2 separate regions of the Homo sapiens genome follow, and region 1 is linked to region 2. Evidence: promoter capture Hi-C in 16 types of primary human blood cells and fetal thymus (Javierre and others, 2016). All regions are on one chromosome and are shown on one strand. The core of a region is centred on a gene start or on the middle of the fragment in contact, and the rest is flanking DNA. Distances in the headings are between cores, read along the strand shown. Region 1 overlaps LMTK2 (lemur tyrosine kinase 2). Region 2 holds the start of ASNS (asparagine synthetase (glutamine-hydrolyzing)).

Evidence for each region. The method cuts DNA at HindIII sites, captures the fragments that hold promoters and counts their contacts. A CHiCAGO score of 5 or more calls a contact.
Region 1: a fragment that was not itself captured here is called in contact with the fragment with the promoter of ASNS in region 2 in 1 of 17 cell types (total B cells); the score reaches 5.2 in total B cells.

The regions. Positions count from the first base shown.
Region 1 is chr7:98,165,769-98,168,468 of GRCh38, forward strand. All of the region lies in intron 6 of LMTK2 (lemur tyrosine kinase 2), which reads left to right. Among named protein-coding and RNA genes, the nearest start is that of BHLHA15, 44 kb to the right of the region's middle. RefSeq lists enhancers at 1-290, 291-806. The HindIII fragment of the contact is 5,014 bases long and covers 1-2,700 here.
Region 2 is chr7:97,871,090-97,873,789 of GRCh38, forward strand. It overlaps ASNS (asparagine synthetase (glutamine-hydrolyzing)), which reads right to left and starts at 1,319. Exons shown (of 13, transcript NM_001673.5): 1 at 1,262-1,319. The region is part of intron 7 of CZ1P-ASNS (CZ1P-ASNS readthrough); the gene reads right to left. RefSeq lists silencers at 1,041-1,150, 1,461-1,550 and an enhancer at 1,200-1,915. The HindIII fragment of the contact is 3,580 bases long and covers 1-1,664 here.

The DNA of each region.
Region 1 (2,700 bases), core at 98-2,597, 290 kb after region 2:
AGGCACCGGGCACACCAAGATGGATGACGTGTCGTTGCCCCTAAGGAGCTCATGTAGAGGAGAGGGGACACAGAGTCACGGTGGAACAGGCGTGAGGAGAGCTGGGGGCACAGGTGGATGGGGTCCCTGACCAGAGCCAGCAGAGGGGAGGCCTGTGCTGGACAACCGCATGGGTTGAGGTGTGGGGGTGATTGGGTCGGGGGTACGTTCCCAGTCCCTGCGTCTGCCCTGTTCCAGTGCCCGGCCCTGTGCTGGGGCCCTGCCAATGGCCTTGGCCCTCCCCACGCCTGGCTGCAGCCCGGGCACTACGGCCTTGGCCCTTGCTGAGTCTGCCTCGGCTGCCTCTGGCCAGGCCCTTCCGGTCTTCCCTGGTGCCTGCTCTCCCTCCCCTGCATTTCCTCCATCAGCACTGCTTCCCCATGTGTGTGGCCACACTGCTCCTAGGTGCTGTCTTCTTTCTCCCCTGTTGCTGCAGTGACAGGTCATCGCTGCTTATAACCAAGGTGTGCACCTGTAGCTGGAGCGCTGGAGCCACACGGAGTGGCAGCTGTGATTTCAGCAGAGGTTCTCTGGCGCCCTCCGATGGTGCTTGGGCAGGCTGATGGGGGCCTCACTGTTGTCTGTAAAAGTTTAAAAAGAAAAACACTTTTAATAGAAAAATTTACAGAATAAGGATATAAAGAAAAATATTTTTGTACAACTGTGCAATGTGTTTTTGTTTTAACCTAAGTGTTATTACAAAAAGACTCAAAAGTTTTAAAAAATTAAAAAGTAAAAAAGTTACAGTAAGCTAAGGTATATTATTGAGAAAGACAAAATTTTTATATAGATTTAGTGTGGTCTAAGGGTCTCTTGAGCCCAGGAGGTCAAGGCTGCATACAGAAATACTTGCCATCGTGTTACAGTGGCTTACACTGTTTTCAGTGCAGTAACATGCTCTATAGGTTTGAAGCCTAGGCTGTAGCAAGAAACCACCCTCTGTAGCCTCAGGGTGCAGTAGGCTGACCATCTAGGTTCATGTAAGTATACTCTGTGATGTTTGCACGATGGTGAAATTGCCTAACAACACATTTCTCAGAAGGCATCCCCAGTGTTAAGTGACACACGACTGTATTTTAACAGAATTTTGGAATAATTTAGACTCTCTGTTCTCAAAGTAACATTTACTATACAAAGATAAACTTTCAAAGAGAATCAGATTTTACTTAAAGAATATTATTTTCCCAAATTAAGTGTCTTTGGCTAGCTTTAATGTCCAGAGTAATGAAGTAATAAATTTAAAAGCCCAGTAAAAATGTGAAATTTCAGATTTACTCCTAAGTTCATTCTTATTAGATTATTAAATGGAAATGATAGGGTGGGGCGGCTTTGGGAAAACAGTTGTCCCAACTTTAACCTGTAGGGCATCATTTAGAATGTCTGCCTAAGTGTTTTTTCTTTTTTCTCCCATTCATTAAGCAAATATTAAACACATGCTGTGTGCCCAGCACTGTTCTAGGTTTTAGAGACACAATAGGGAACTAGACGGAGTCCTAGCCATGTCTAGCTTGCTTTCTAGTGGTAGAGACAGACAAGGAAATAAAACAGCAGGGAGGAACCCAGGCTATCACGGTTGGATTTATGTTTTCAGGGACTGGCTTTGGCTGCTCAGGCGAATGGATGCAGGGAGGCCGCAGGGAGACTGGCGCAGGTGTGTCCTCAAGGTGGGGTGGTGCTGGGACCAATACCACAGCAGCGGAGGCATGGGAGGTAGTTTGAAAACAGACCCAGAACTTGGTGACGGGTTGGATGTGGCTGCCTAGAGGCAGAACTCACAAATGACATCTTCACTTTTGGTCTGACGCACTTGGAAAACGGCGATGCCACTTACTGAGACTGGCAGAGGTTTGTGCCAGAGGGCTCTTAGGCATACAGGGAGGGAAGTTGAGTCAGGAGATGAGGGGCTGGGCCAGAGAGCTGTACGTGAGGCATGGGCTTTCAAGCCATGGGGTGGCTGAAACCCCTGGTCGGGGAGCGCCCCCAGGACTGAGGACCAGGACGGAGCTCCAGGGTCCTTACGGATCAACGAGAGGAGGGAGAGCCAGTGGGGGGGCCGAGGAAGGAGCGGCCAGTGGGATAAGAAGAAACGCAGGAGGTTGCGGTGCCCGAAGGCTGGTGAAGAACATGTTTAAGCAAGGAAAGAACGGGCCGGTCTCCATTAATGCTGGTGAGATGAGACCCGACCAGCTGTGCTTGGGGAGAAGTGGGCAGGTCACTCCTTGATAGGCCTGGCGAGAGCAGCTGCCACTGAATGGTGGATGCAAGTGCTTCTGATGGTGGCAAGGGGTTCCTGAACAAGGAGCCAGGACCGACCAGGCTTCTGAGGAGTTTAACTACGGAAAGGAGAAAGAAGTGGAGGGCTGGGGAGGGGAGGGCTGGGTTTACCTGGGAGGTGTTTGGGGCCAGAGCAGAGAGAAGAGATGGACTCTCGAGAGGACTGAGCTTAGAAAGGCACAAGACGAAGAATCCATGGCAACCAAAGAGGAGATGATGTATAAGGTTATGGATGCCAGTGGGCGGGGGGACCAGTGGTGCTGAGAAAAAATAGACACAGGCAGAGAGCTGCTGGGAGGGAAGCGAGGCCCCGGGCTTCGCGGAGGCGTGGCGGCGTCAGCTGCCCCAGTCTGCATGTCTTCTATTTCATTAGCAGAAGCGGGGGTG
Region 2 (2,700 bases), core at 69-2,568:
TAGCCCCATTAAAAGAAAAAGGTGAAATTAATTTTAAATAAACTTAACTCAGTATGTCCCAAATAGTAACATTTTAACATATATGTAATCAATATAAAATATTATCGAGCAGATATTTTACACTGTTCTTCCTACTCCAACGACAAAATCCAGTGTATTTAACACAATACATCTCAGTTAGGACTAGCCAGCACTTCAAGTGCTCAACAGTTACAGGTGGCTAGCGCCTACCGAACTGGACATGGCAGTTTCAGTGCATTTAATTTCTATTCCACTTAGTGCTACTTACAACTTCACCCTCTCCCTTTACTTTTATATTAAGATCTCAGTAAGTAACCAACTACAGACAGGTTCAAGCCCTACTTTACCTCTAATTACTCTTACAGCAATGCTATGAATCATGATTTAAAATTTAAAAAAAAAAACTGCTGTTAAATTATTAGTCAAGCGCCCAGGGCAATGGACAGTAAAGAAATAATGTAGGCCACGGGCCGAGATGAAAACTGTCCTTTTTATTTAAAGCTATAACAATCATCTGAAGCCAGCCCTGCAAAATGACAGCCATTGAAAAAGGCATGCTAGTTCTTTTGCCTTTTTCTGTACTTGGTCGCCTGTGTCCCTAAACAGACCTCTTCTCGGCAGGGTTTGCTCAGCAAGTCACTTGATGAGTCTTGCAGTCTACAGAGACAGGTGGGGACTGGTGGGGATGGCGGGGTGAGAGGGGAGGAGGAGGGTGAGCGGTCCAGGTGAGGAGGGGGGCAGTTGAAGGTGAAAGCAGACACCGAGACGGTGATAAGGCCGCAGTCTCTTCCTAGATCAGGACCACGCGACACCTGACTGCGCCCTGGCCACGAGCACGATCCGACCCGTCCGCCGCAGGGACCCGGACCGCGAAAATGTCCACAGGCTTCGACGCCACATAGTAAAAAAAAGTACACATATAACATTTACAGGGGCTCAAACTGCCGCTGCCTCCTCTCCGGAGCGGTCCGGCCTGCCGGCCGCGGTTCCCTCTCGATGCTTCAGGGAACCAGGACAGAAAGGTCCTTCCGCTAGCTGTCAGGTGCGTAACAATCGCTAGGCGTCCGCCCCGCCCTCCCTACCGCAGGAGCCGCAGCATCAGCAGGCGCCCGCGAACCGCGTCTGCCGGGTGCCAGGCTGAAGACCGCATCCTCCACCCCTTCCTTCCGGAGCAGCCCCAGGGCACGCGAGGAGGATGCTGGCGCGGGGCGCAGGGCACGGGGCGCAGGACCCGGCTCACCTGGGCGTAAGCAGGTCAGGGTGATGTGGCGGGCTGAGGCCAGGGATGTGGACAGCTTGACGGGCGGCGAGGCCGCTGGCGCTTATACCGACCTGGCTCCTGTAACGCGTGCGGGAAGTTTCATCATGCCTGCGAGGACCAACCAGCGCGCACAGGGGCGGGGCCGCGGGGTGTCCGGGGCGGAGCAGGACTAAGTGGGGCGGCGGAAGGGCGCAAGGAGGAGCTCTTTTGTTTCCAGCGCCTTGCGTCTCAGTGCGCCTGTTTAAGGATAGCCTCAGAGCTCCGCCCAGGCTACCTGCTGTTCTGACAATTAGGGAGGCTTCTGAACTTGGTTTGTTCTTCGGGAAATCATCACCGTTTTTTTGTTGCACTGCCGTCTGATTTATTATGCAGTGCAGAGAAAAGCTTGTCCTAAGAAACTGATGCGTGAGGCCTAAAATGTCCTTATAAGATCTATTAATAAATCGGGGCCAGGAGCGGTGGCTCACGCCTGTAATCCCAACACTTTGGGAAGCCAAGGCAAGAGGATCACTTGAAACCAGGAGTTCAAGACCAGCCTGGGAAACACAGCGAGATCACATCTCTATAAAAATTGGTGGCACACCATGGTAGTCCCAGCAACTCAGGAGGCTGAGGCAGAAGGATAGTTTGAGCCCAGGCGTTTGAGGCTGAGGTGAGCTCAACTCCAGCCTGGGCGACAAAGGGAGACCCCCATCTCTAAAACAATAAAATCTAAATCTAATTGATACATGAAGCCAAAATACATCAGTGGTCCTTAAACATTTTAAGTACAAAGATTCCTTTTAGAATCTCAAAAAGGATTTTGTCAACTTGCCTCCACAAGATGATTATGTGCTTTTAAGTATCTCTTTGATGAAGAAAAGACATCACGATTTTTAAAAAGTATCATAACACTCTTAAATCGTATTTTACTAATTACATCAGCACCGAAATAAATTGAGAAATAGTAAAATTATATGTGCACGACCTACTAAGATCAGACTACAGTCAATGCTTGGAGAGCATGCAGGTTTGATATCCCCATACAACGCATTCCTGACTAAATCAAAAACGTCAACAATTTAAAATCCCTAAGAACAGAAGATGGAGTAGTCGCTTAGTAGTTACAGGCAAGAGCAAAGATGAGAGATGACTTGTTCTAAGGTTCATTGTTGCTGGAAAGTTTTCAGTATCAAACAGACTTTGCTGTATCCTAATTGACGTACTTTAAACCTGAGAGCAATGTGGGAAAGTAGGTCTTCTATCTACATTTTACAAATGAAAAAATAAGACTCAGAAAAGTTGAGGGATTTATCCAAACACAGCTTCACAACAGTAGAGAACTGAGTCATAATCTGTGTAAACCCAGAGCCCATTTCCCGTAGCATCTTGCCTATGTAGTGAAAGACAGGTTCCCCTGCTTGGTGTGTTACCTAGTG